Linked DNA regions of Homo sapiens: region 1 is linked to region 2. Evidence: promoter capture Hi-C in human tissues and cell types (Jung and others, 2019). All regions are on one chromosome and are shown on one strand. Each heading gives the region's core, a stretch centred on a gene start or on the middle of the fragment in contact. The rest is flanking DNA. Distances are from core to core; before and after follow the strand shown.

Region 1 (6,321 bases), core at 3,653-6,152, 1.3 Mb before region 2:
GTCGAGTCCGTGCAGTTGTGAGAAGTAACACTGTAACACTGAAAGAGCTCATGGACCCTTCACTCGGCTTCCCGCAATGGTAACATCTTGCAAAAAACGATAGCATAACATCATGATCAGGATACTGCTACTGATACAATCAACCTAATTTATCCAGCTCTTGCCAGTGTTTCCTGCGCTCAAGTGTGCGTGAAAAGACGGCACATGCACGTCCCATGCAACATTATTACGTGTGTAGGTCCACGTGTCCATCAGCACAAGGGTGTTGCCTTCCATGACCAGGAGCACCCCAAACCCCCACCCCTCACAACCACTAATCCGTTCTCTGTTTCTGTAGGTTTGTCATTTCAAGAACGTTACAGAAAGGAGGTCATCGAGTGTAACTTTTGCAACTATTTTTTTCACTCTTCATGGTTCCCTTGAGATTCACCCAAGATGACCTGTGCTTTGATGATACAAAATCCATAGATAACAATGGTCGGCACCTACGGGCCCAGGGTGCCTTCCCTGAGGTACTGATTACCGTTGTCGCCTGGTACAGTCCCCCGAGGCTTCCCTCGAGTGCCAGGAAGGGACCTCGCTGGGGTCAGGGAGACGGGCACTCCACACAGTGACCCGAAGCTGGCTTGGCTGAGCAAGTGCATGGCTCTGGGGACCTCCAGGCCCAGACGATGCTGCTCCTCTCCAAGTGGTGACCTCTCTCCACCCTAGCCAGGGACCATCTGTGTTTGGCACACAGCATGCCACCTGGTGAGAAAACTCATCCCACTCCACACTCTCCATAGTACTGTGGCATGGGCAAGGTCTGGGGGGCAGCCTGCCACCGCCTGCAGGGGCCAATGTCCTGGGCAGTTTTAGTAGCTCAGTGCTAGGCATGGGTGGAAAACATCTGGCTGTTCATTGTGGATGCTCTTAGCTTGTTCTGGAAAGCCTTCCAGGTCGCTGTGCCTGGGGAGCAGGTGCAGAGCTGCCCATGCCCTGCGTGGCCTCTGAGCTTCCCTTAGTACTTCCCCACCGTGTGAGGGTACGAGTTCTCTCCCTGCCAACCCTTCCTAGTATTCTAACCCAGCGGCTGCTCAGATGGAGTTTCTCCCCATTTCCAGCTACGGTTTTACACACAGTCTGCTCTAAGGCAAAGAACCGGAGGAAATGCCAAGCCTATGGACCGTGAAAAGCCCGTGAGTTAAACACTGGGGAAAACCCATTGTAAATGAGTCATCCTGTGCATAGACTCTCAACCACTTACTCTTCAGAGGGCAAGAGGGCGAGGGCATGTCTTAGCCTGTCAGTGGCAACTGTGTCTAGAAAGGGTACTCTGCCAACATGGGTCCACCCTGGACTTCTGAAAATTGATCCTGACTGCAGCCAACAAAACAGGGGATGGAAACAAACACTTCTCCCTCTTTTGAAACAATATGAAGACATCAGGGAAAGGTTCTCATGCCCTGTGTGAAGTCAGGGTGTTAGGAAAAGGCCAGCTCAGATTTTCCGCCTTCCACATGGCCCAGAGCCCATGGCAGCTGCCTCCAGGGGCAGCGCAAGCTTCTAGCTCCCCAGTCTCAGGAGAGGAGGTGGGGAGACCTCCCAGACTGCCCCCAAACCAAGGGCCTCTGTCAAATGACCTCACTCTCCAAAATGCCAGTGTGACAAAGTGCAGGCTCAGGCCCAATGGAGGCAACCGCAGTGGAGAAGGACCCCCCAACAACACCATGCATTTTTCCTGCTCTCCCATCCCCAATGCTGCTGGGATTTGGCTTCTGAGTTGCAAAGCTTCTTCTGTGTAGGGATCACTGCAAGATCCAAAGATGTTTCCTGCGCTGCCTCCCTGTTCCTTCCAGGTCGCCCCTCTCAGGGAGCAGCATGTCCCACGCATGCCCTCGGCTGGCCTGCACTGCACGCTAGTCCACCGAGGTGGACAGAACGGCTCCCGGAGGTGTCCACACCCACACCTCTGGAATCTATGAATATGCTGTCTCACTTGGCAAGAGGGACTCTGCAGGTGGGATTAGGTATCCCACCTTAAAATAGGGAGACTCTCTTGGATTCGCTGGGTGGGCCCAATTTAATCATGTGAGCCCCTAAAAGGAGAGGACTTTCTGCAGCTGGAGGCACAGGGGACAGCAGAGAGCTTCCATGTGTGACAAGAACTCAGCCGCAGCTGCTGGCTCTGGAGATGAGCCAGGGATGCAGGGGACTCTGGAACCTGAGGGGACCCCTGGCCAGGAGCCAGCCCCCAAGCCACAAGCACTGAATTCCATGAACAACTTGAAGGGGCTGGCAGCAGATGCCCCACCAGGTAAAGAGTCCATCCCAGTGAAAACTCGCCGTCCGAGTTTCCGAGCCATCGTGCTCAGCAGGAGCAGGGCACATGTGGGAGCAGCTGGCTTCGTGTGTGATGAGGAGACCGTGGAGAAGGCGTGGCTCGGAGGGAAGATGCATCTCACAGGCACTAAGGTGCTGCAGTCAGAGGTAAGGGGCATCCTTGTCTTACCCCAAGGAAAAAAAAAATGGTTTCATAGGTGGTGAGGCACATCCTGATTCCAGAGACACTAAACATGAAAAATGTGTGTCACATAACTGATTATTGGTAAATAGCGAGTGCAATGGGACATATAGGATAATAGAGTTATGCCAACAGCAACTAAAGCCACTATTTCAGAGCCTCTGTGACAGACATTTTTGCATTTAACCTTCACAATATGAGCTGGTACCATCTACATCCATCTCCATTTTATGGATGTGGAAACTGAGGCCAACACTCATTCAAGCCCATGAATGGTGCAGTGTAGAGGGTGTAGAAGGGAGGTGGGACGGAAGCGGAGGGTGTAGAGGGGAGGCCAGAGGGGAAGGTGTAGAGGGGAGGTGGGAACGGAGGGCGGAGAGTATAGAGGGGAGGCGGGAAGGGAGGGTGTTGAGGGGAGGTTGTAAAGGGGAGGTGGGAGGGGAGAGGAGGGTGTAGAGGAGAAGCAGGAGGGGAGGGGGGAGGGTGGAGGGCGTAGAGGGGAGGCAGGAGGGGAGGGGAGGGTGTAGAGGGGAGGCAGGAGGGGAGGGTGGAGGGTGTAGAGGGGAGGCAGGAGGGGAGGGTGTAGAGGGGAGGCAGGAGGGGAGGGGAGGGTGTAGAGGGGAGGCAGGAGGGGAGGGGAGGGTGTAGAGGGGAGGCAGGAGGGGAGGCTGTAGAGTGTAGAGGTGATGCGGGAGAGGAGGGTGTAGAGGGGAGGCAGGAGGGGAGGGTGGAGGGCGTAGAGGGGCTGCTCCACAGGACTGGGCAGCCAGTGGCGGGGTGGTGCCTGGAAGCCGACCTCTGTGCTCTCATTCAAGCCACAGAAATTAAGCAACATAGACAGGCAGGTGGGCAAACAGCCCAACTAGCCTGTCCTGTGTCATCAGTATAAAATACAAGTAATAGGAGCCCATTTGTTTCTCTGTCTTTGGCCTGTGTGCTCCTACGGGTGGCCCTTTTGACAGGTACATGGTGACAGCCCTGTGAAACCAATAATGCTCGGCCACAGGGCGTGGGATTATAATCTCATCCAAATCCCTCGGAATTGACACAGACACTCTCTTCAGGGTTTTTGCAGTGTGCGCCAACCACAAAAATCCTACCTGCTACAGCAAATTCTTATGAATAAAAGGGGATTTAACTCAACATCATAAAGAAGTGAAGTGTGTTTGTGTACCTTTAAAAGTCAGAACACGGAGAGGTGCTAACTCGAGAGAACACAAAACTAATCAGATATAAATGTAAAACTAAAGCTCTTAAGATAGATTTAAATATTTTAAAAAGGAATGATGATCGAAACAAACATTCTCGTTTAAAGGGAGATAAATTTCTTCTCTTGTTTAAATTACCTTAAAATGTTTGAACACGGTATAGTCCTGTCTACTAGAGATTTACACGTCGCAAATTTTAATTTTGGCTGAATCTATAATGTGCTGTGCTCCTAGAACTACAGATCAACCTCGATGAAAAAATCTTTGCAGAGAATGGGATGTGATATTTACATCTGTAGCGGAAGCATGGATGGGGAAGGTAGCAATACCAGCTCAGGCCTCTCATGTAGAATCAACAGTGATTGGTGACTCAAAGCCGGCTTCCTTGGATGCTTTTAACAGACTTTCGCTTCTTTCAGAGGGACCGACAGGTTTGCACTGCATTGTATTTAGAAGAGTCAAGGTCAGGACATGGAGTCATTTCCTAATGATTAAAGGAATGGGACGTGATCAAGGTAAACCACCTTTTGTGCAGTATTCCTTTTCTTGCTAGTTTCATAGGAAAACACAAGCTTTTTTTTTTTTTTCCTTATTTTGCAAAGTGGCAGACTGCAAATTTTTTTATTTAAGGGGCTCTCTGAGGGTTTTCTTATTTGAATTTTCCTGTTCTCAATTCCCCTTTTTCCCAAAGAGGAGAGAGGAAGTCGAGATTCTCCTTCCTAGAGGCGGCCTCTAAGGCTACCTCTTATCAACAGCGGCTACCACTGCGGAACACAGGCTGCTCTCATAGTCATCACGGCCACTTATGAAGAATAAATGCATGACAGTAGCTGGAAAAATGAGAGAAATAAAGTCACTTGCCTCACAACTTAACCTCCTCATAAACTGATAATAGGTTTTGTATTTTCTTAGCCACTGTACAATGCACACTCCCTAAACACTAATAGTTTCCAGCATTTAGAGCTGGGCAACTCCAGTGTACTTAATTTTATGTTCTTTCTCCTTGGTTCAGGAATAATATGTCGCCCAGTTTGAGGAAGCATCTCTGTTCTCTTTTTTTTTTTAAGTTTAACAAAAGGTAACATCCGATAGTTTTACATTTTCTGCTAGGTCAAAAAATAACAGCTAAATTAATAATTAATAGAATAATTTCTAAATTAATAATTTTTTTTTTGAGTTGGAGTTTTGCTCCTGTGGCCCAGATTGGGTTGCAATGATGCGATCTTGGCTCACTGCAACCTCTGCCTCCTGGGTTCAAGTGATTCTCGTGCCTCCGCCTCCCGAGTGGCTGGGATCATAGGCGCCCGCCACTGCGCCCAGCTGATGTTTGTATTTTTAGTAGAGACGGGCGGGATTTCACCATGTTGGCCAGGCTGGTCTCGAACTCCTGGCCTCAAGTGATCCGCCCACCTTGGCCTCCCAAAGTGCTGGGATTACAGGCATAAGCCACCATGCCTGGACAGCAATAATAGAATAGTTTCTGAACACCGATCACGATAGCCAAATAAGAGTTACAGAAAAGCTTAGCAGCCTAAAGCTAGAATAGGAGAGGGATCTATATGACAGGGGTTTCACCGCTCTATTTCCCGAGCTTTGTGACTGGAGTATTCAGAAGGACGTTTCTTGGAAGGATTGAGAACATCAACACTTTGGATTTAATGGACTTATATTCTTGGGAAAGAAGGCTAGGAAGGATTTCGAAGGTAAACTCAACCTCACCTTCATTTGCCGAGTTACAAATAAAGCCACTGAAATACGCTATTTTGTTTCTGCAGAAGAGTCAGTGTCGGATGCTATCTGAGATGCTGGCAACACCACTTAGAGGCTCCCGCATTACCTATGATGAAAAGAAAGGCCGTCGCCCTGGCCGGTTCAAAAGCGCTCCCCGGCAGCGCCGCCTCGCAGACGTATGGCCCGGTGTCCGCGGACGTCGGGTTGCTGATGGTGAGGCGTCTTCCAAAGCTGTGGAGGCCACTGGTGATTCTCACTCCATTCCTCTTCCAGGTCACACTCAGGTCCTCCACAGGCCTGTGGGAATGAAAGGCATTCATGACGACGATTGTGACTCAGGGAGGTGGCAACGGTCATCATCTCAGGCACTCGGCACAGGCTTGACGAAGCTAATGCTACCAGGGTGCATGGTGGGTTGAACAACGGACACTGAAAACTCAATCTAGATGTAACTCTACTCCCTCCCAGCACGCATTGACGATGCATTCTGCTCAAGGGCTATTAAGCAAGGATATCTAATTGCCGCAGCAATGGACCATAAGTGCTAATGATCCCATTTGCTCAGGAAATGAATGTTTAAAATAAATACTGTGAGGGGACACAACGACATGGAAGGCGGGATCATCCGAGCTTGATTCTGGAGCGACCGCTAAGTAGGCAGAGAACACCTTGGCTGACTAAGAGGAGAAGAGCAATGAACTTTTTCCTCTGCCTCAACTCCTCTCTCTTCCCTAGAGAGGATCTCAGAGGAGCCCCCCACTACCACCCAGAGCTGCATTGAAAGCACCGCCCTGTTGCAGTGGGGGACTCTGGAAGACATCAGTGTGTCCATTTCCTTATCTACCCATATCTCGTATTCATGGCCCACCCGGCCAAACA
Region 2 (6,039 bases), core at 96-2,595:
CTGGAGCAGGGATGTTCTGACGGGGACAGGGGGTAGGACGTCTCCTCTCCCAGAGCACCCGAGTTCCAGCCCTGCTGCTATTAATACCATGGGTAAACTCAGACGCTTCTCCTTCCTCCTCCCCTTGCCTTTTTTTGTCCAAAGACTGGAAAAGAGCACGTCCGCATCCCCCCCCCAGGGAGGTTCTGCCGCTCTAAGCAACAAGGGCCGCCAGACTGGCCCAGTAACCAGGTATCCAAGGTCAGGCTGCCCTAAACCGCACAGCTCCGGGCACTCATGCTCCCCCATCTGACCACGCAGATGCCTGGCCTTTGGGCAAGAAACCATGCTCTGATTCTCGCTATTCTGAATGCGCTTTGCAAAACCTCCCAGCAGCTGCATCGAGCTATTCATTAGCTGACAGCGGAGACCTTCAGGCAGAACCAGACGGACGGATGGTTTTGGGGGTTTCTCACCTCTCAGTTTCCATTCGCTAGGAGGGAAAACCGGGGGCTTAGACCGCAGGGGTAGTGGCCTCCGGGCCAGACTCTTGGCTTCCTGTTCTCTCTCCTCACCTGCGAACCCCAAACTCCTCTGCCAAGTGTTTCCCTCCCGTGATGGGGGCAGAAAGGACCCAGGTCCCTGCCCTCCCCTGTCCTTTGTAAAGTTTGCCATTTCTCTGTCACCCCTCCCTTGCTTTTCTGGTTTTGAGACCTGTCTTACATCCCTGCAGGGATCATATCCACAGCCTTCTCCCTCAGTCTCCTGGGGGAGGAAGCCTTCTCCCTCCCCGGCTCATACACAGGCTGCGGGGAGCCCTGGGCACGACGAGATTCTCGGCGCCCTGGAGGTTCCCCGGGGACGTCCCGCACCCACCTGGCTCGCCCCAGCCCGGAAACGCCTTCTTTCGGGCGCTTGGCCCTGGATTCCCGACCCGTCCCCAGTTTGCTCCCATCGGGAAGCGCGCAGGTCGCCCTGGCCTGGGAGAGGATGGCGGGGAGGGGGCGCGTGGCCCTTCCCTGGCCCGGCCTTCCCTCTGCAGGACCTGCCGGGGCTGTGCGGACCCCGGCGCGGCGCTGCACCAAACCCTCGCCAAGTGCGCCCTTCGCGTCTCCGCGGTCCCCGCGCGCCCGTAGCCGCCGCCGCCCGGGCGCCCTCGGGACTTGGTGCGCGGGCCGGGCTGGACCCGGAGCTGCCCCTACCCACCCGCCCCGGCACGGAGGTCCCTCTCGGTCCCTGCGCCCCCGAGTCTTCCCCGCGCGCCCCCCTACCTCGCAGTCCCGCGCCCGCCGGAGCCGGCAGAGGCCGCGCCGGGCACCGAGCCCCGGGCAGCAGCGTGGGCAGCTCGGCCTGGGCCGGGAGGATCGGGAGGTCCCGGTGACGTCGGCGCGCGGGGCAGGGACCGAGGCGGGCGGGACTGGGGCCGGTGTGGGGCCGCGGGCAGGACAGGAGGGCCACACCCCTCCCGGCGCTCAGCGTCCTGCCCCACTCCCTCCAGCTGCCCGCGGTGGAGCTCACGTGGGACCCTCCAGCCTCCCAGAAACACCCGGGCAGGGGGGCCCCAGAGCCTAAAGCCAAACAGGTGAGGGAGGTCAGTCAGCCCGGGCCAGTTCGTGCCTCCCCAGGTGAGAGGAGTAAACCCGGCTACTCTGCAAGGCGCCAGGTGAAGAGGTGAACCAGGCCACCAGTTAAGGCCCCAGGTGAGAGGGGTGAACCAGCGCCACGAGGTGAGGAAGGGGAACCAGGCCACCAGGAGAGGCCCCAGGTGAGAGGGGTGAACCAGGCTATCAGGCAAGGCGCCAGGTGAGGGGGTGAACGAGGCCACCAGGTGAGGAGGTGAACCAGGCTTATCAGCGAAGCCCCAGGTGAGAGGGGTGAACCAGGCCCCTAGGTTAGCCCTACAGTCAGTGGCCCTGAGGACGGGCGCCCTGCCCTACCCTGGCCAGCTGTGAGTGCAGCCCTGGCCCTGTGCCAGCCACCAGGAGATGGAAAGGACTCTAAGTGCGGAAGGATGCCGTGAAGGCCGGCATGACGGCTCCAGACAGAGCCCAGAGGCCTTTTCCATAAACTGCCCTTTTCCTCTCTGCAAACCCTCCCAGCACCAGCTTCCCTCGGGCAGCCTCCCACCAGCTCTGCTTCACCGTGCAGAAATGCCCCCCACGCCCTCAGCAGCGCCCCACAGATGGCTGAGGGATTCGTCACCATCGTCCCACACCAGTGCAAAGAATTTTTTTTTTTTTTTAGATGGAGTCTCGCTCTGTCGCCCAGGCTGGAGTGTAATGGTGCAATCTGGGCTCACTGCAACCTCCACCTCCGGGGTTCAAGTCATTCTTCTGCCTCAGCCGCCTGAGTAGTGGGGATTATAGGTACCCATCATTGTGTCCAGCTAATTTTTGTATTTTTAATAGAGATGGGGTTTCACCTTCTTGGCCAGGCTGGTATCAAACTCTTGACCTCATGATACACCCGCCTCAGCCTCTCAAAGTGCTGGGAGTACAGGCGTGAGCCACCACACCCAGCCTCAAAGAATTTTTTTAAGCCTTAAGAAATAACACGGCTGGGCGTGGTGGCTCATGCCTGTAATCCCAGCACTTTGGGAGGCTGAGGCAGACAGATCACAAGGTCAGGAGTTCAAGACCGGCCTGGCCAGTATGGTCAAACCCCGTCTCTATTAAAAATAAAAAAATTAGCTGGGCGTGGTGGCTGGTGCCTATAGTCCCAGCTACTCGGGAGGCTGAAGCAGGAGAATCACTTGAACCCGGGAGGCGGAGGTTGCAGTGAGCCGAGATTATGCCACTGCACTCCAGCCTGGGTGACAAAGCAAGACTTTGTTTCAAAAAAAAAAGAGAGAGAGAGAAAAACAACACAACACTAGGTGTCCGGTGTGCAAAATTTGGAAAATTATGAAAAATAAAAACAAAAAGAAGACCCCATAAGCCAACTGTGTAGAGGTAACCTCTCTCACCTTCTTGTCAGACATCCTTCTGATCGCCTTCTCCTCCACATTGAAATGTATTTTTAAAAAGTTTTTTTTGAGACAGGATCTTGCTCTATTGCCCAAGCTAGAATGCACTGGTATAAACGCGAGTCACTGTAGCCTCGACCTCCTAGACTCCAGCAATCCTCCTCCCTCAGCCTCCTGAGTAGCTGAGACTACAGGTACGTGCCATCACACCTGGCTAATTTTGAAACTTTTATGTAGAGATGGGATCTCGCTATGTTGCTCAAGCTGGTCTCAAACTCCTGGGCTCAAACAACCCTCCCAGCTCGGCCTCCCAAAATGTTGAGATCACAGGTATGAGCCACCGTGCCCAGCCTAAATACATATTTTAAGGGATTCACGTCACATACTGCGTTCTGCAGGCGGCCCGTGACTTCACACTCATCAATAGCCAAAAGTCCGTCTCCACACCCTGATGGTCTGCGCTGGACTCCGTGTCATGGATCTGTCACCTGCTTTGGGATATTTTGGTTTCTCCTGGTGTCTCACTAGCATATATCACTGTGATAGACGATCTTGTTTCCACAGATCTTTGTACAGGTATCTGGTCCCCCTCACCTTGGGATAAATTCCTACAAATAGATTGTGACTCAGAAAGCTGCACTTCTTCACACGTGTTGCCGCAGGGATTTTCCAGGTTATTTCTGTTGGGGATGGAGAACCCAGAACCTGAGAAAAGATGAATGTTCTTTTTTTTTTTTTTTTTTTTTTCTTGAGACGGAGTCTCGCTCTGTCACTCAGGCTGGAGTGCAGTGGCGTGATCTCGGCTCACTGCAAGCTCCACCTCCCGGGTTCACACCATTCTCCTGCCTCAGCCTCCTAAGTAGCTGGGACTACAGGCGCCTGCCATCATGCCTAGCTAATTTTTGTGTTTTTAGTAGAGATGGGGTTTCACCATGTTGGCCAGGATGGTCTCGATCTCCTGACCTCGTGATCCGCCTGCCACGGCCTCCCAAAGTGCTGGGATTACAGGCATGAGCCACCGCACCCGGCCTTTTTTTTTTTTTGAGACGGAGTCTCACTCTGTTGCCCAGAGCTGGAGTACAAGTGGCGCGATCTCGGCTCACTGCAAACTCCACTTCCTGGGTTCAAGCGATTCTCCTGCCTCAGCCACCCAAGTAGCTGCGATTACAGGTGCCCGTCACCTCGCCCGGCTAATTTTTGTATTTTTAGGAAGGACAGGGCTTCACCCTGTTGGCCAGGCTGGTCTCGAACTCCTGACTTCAAGTGATCCACCCGCCTTGGCCTCCCAAATTGCTGGGATTACAGGCGTGAGCCACCGAGCCTGGCCTGAATGTTCTGTCCTAAAGCTGCTTATTACAAAGAAGTTGTGGAATATCCTCCCCCCAACCCCCACGCCCCTCCCTGAATAGCCACCGGAAAGGAAATTATGCATCGAGGCCGGGCGCGGCGGCTCAACCTGTAATCCCAGCACTTTGGGAGGCCGAGGCGGGCGGATCACGAGGTCAGAAGATCAAGACCATCCTGGCTAACACAGTGAAACTCCATCTTTACTAAAGATACAAAAAATTAGCCGGGCGTGGTGGCGGGCGCCTGTAGTCCCAGCTACTCAGGAGGCTGAGGCAGGAGAATGGCGTGAACCTGGGAGGCGGAGCTTGCAGTGAGCTGAGATCGCGCCACTGCACTCCAGCCTGGGCGACAGAGACTCCGTCTCAAAAAAAAAAAAAAAAAAAGCAATTATGTGTCAAGCCCAGAGTGGCAGTTCCTCCTCTGTCTGTTGGGTCAGCCCGGGAGACTGGAAGCCCAGATGAGTAGGGCCCCTCCTGGGTGCCCCAAGTTGGGTGGCGCCATGCCCAGTGCCAGGACCCCCGAAACACAGAGGCAGCCTGCTGATGACCTGGCCCCTGCCAGCCAAGGCTTCACTCAGCCAACGCCCTGTCCACACTGCACCCGGGACACGCTGGTCTCCCACCGGCAGACTGCACACCCCTTTCTGGTTGAAGCTACCTCGTCAGAGTCTATTCTAGAAAGAGGCCGTGATATGGGGACCCCTGTCCTTTCAGTGATGAACAAAGGGGGCCGCCCCCAACTTTGACCCCATCACCATCCTCTGACCCAGGCCGACTTGGGGTTAAAAGAGAACTGTGTGGCCTGGGGAAGCTGCTTCACCTTGCCCTGCCTCAGTTTCCCCAGGGTGGGTTACATAGCGGCTCCCAAAAATGTGCCTACTTGCACCATCAGAATGGGACCTTATTTGGAAACCGAGTCGTTGCAGATATGGTTAAAGTAAGGATCTCAAGATGAGGTCATCCTGGGTCAGAGTCAGGGTGGGCCCTAAATCCAATGCAAGTGACTTTGTAAGAGACAGAAAGAGGTTCCTCATTGGAGGAACAAGACAATGTAAAAAATAATGACAATTTTTTTTTTTGAGATGGAGTCTCGCTCTGTCACCCGGGCTGGAGTGCAGTGGCGTGATCTTGGCTCACTGCAACCTCTGCCTCCCAGGTTCAAGCGATTCTCCTGCTTCAGCCTCCTGAGTAGCTGGGATTATAGGCGCGTGCCACCAAGCCCAGCTAATTTTTGTATTTTTAGTAGAGATGGGGTTTCACTGTGTTGGCCAGGCTGGTCTTAAACTCCTGACCTCAAGTGATCCACCCGCCTCGGCCTCCCAAAGTGCTGGGATTATAGGCATGAGCCACTACACCCAGCCAACAATTTTTTAAAAAGAGAGAGAAAGAGGCTGGGTGAGGTGGCTCACGCCTGTAATCTCCAACACTTTGGGAAGCCGAGGTGGGAGGATCACTTGAGCCCAGGAGTTGGAGACCAGCCTGGGCAGCATCTCTACAAAATATTGTAAAAAACAGACAGAGCTGGGCGCGGTGGCTCGCGTCTCTAATCCCAGCACTTTGGGAGGCCAAGGCAGGCGGATCACGAGGTCAGGAGATCGAGACCATCCTGGCTAACACGGTGAAACCCCGTCTCTATTAAAAATATAAAAAAATTAGCCAGGCGTGGTGGCAGGCACCTGTAGTCCCAGCTACTCGGGAGTCTGAGGCAGGAGAATGGTGTGAACCTGGGAGGCGGAGCTTGCAGTGAGC

Evidence for each region. The method cuts DNA at HindIII sites, captures the fragments that hold promoters and counts their contacts. A contact is called where the count stands out against the background at its distance.
Region 1: a fragment that was not itself captured here is called in contact with the fragment with the promoter of AMZ1 in region 2 in 1 of the 25 tissues and cell types used here (dorsolateral prefrontal cortex).

Annotation. Positions count from the first base shown.
Region 1 is chr7:3,951,148-3,957,468 of GRCh38, reverse strand. It overlaps SDK1 (sidekick cell adhesion molecule 1), which reads right to left. Exons shown (of 45, transcript NM_152744.4): 7 at 5,549-5,739. It overlaps LOC124901576 (a long non-coding RNA gene), which reads right to left and starts at 5,534. Exons shown (of 2, transcript XR_007060195.1): 1 at 5,431-5,534. The HindIII fragment of the contact is 3,750 bases long and covers 3,028-6,321 here.
Region 2 is chr7:2,683,508-2,689,546 of GRCh38, reverse strand. It overlaps AMZ1 (archaelysin family metallopeptidase 1), which reads right to left and starts at 1,345. Exons shown (of 7, transcript NM_001384743.1): 1 at 1,251-1,345. RefSeq lists an enhancer at 377-646. The HindIII fragment of the contact is 48,320 bases long and covers 1-6,039 here.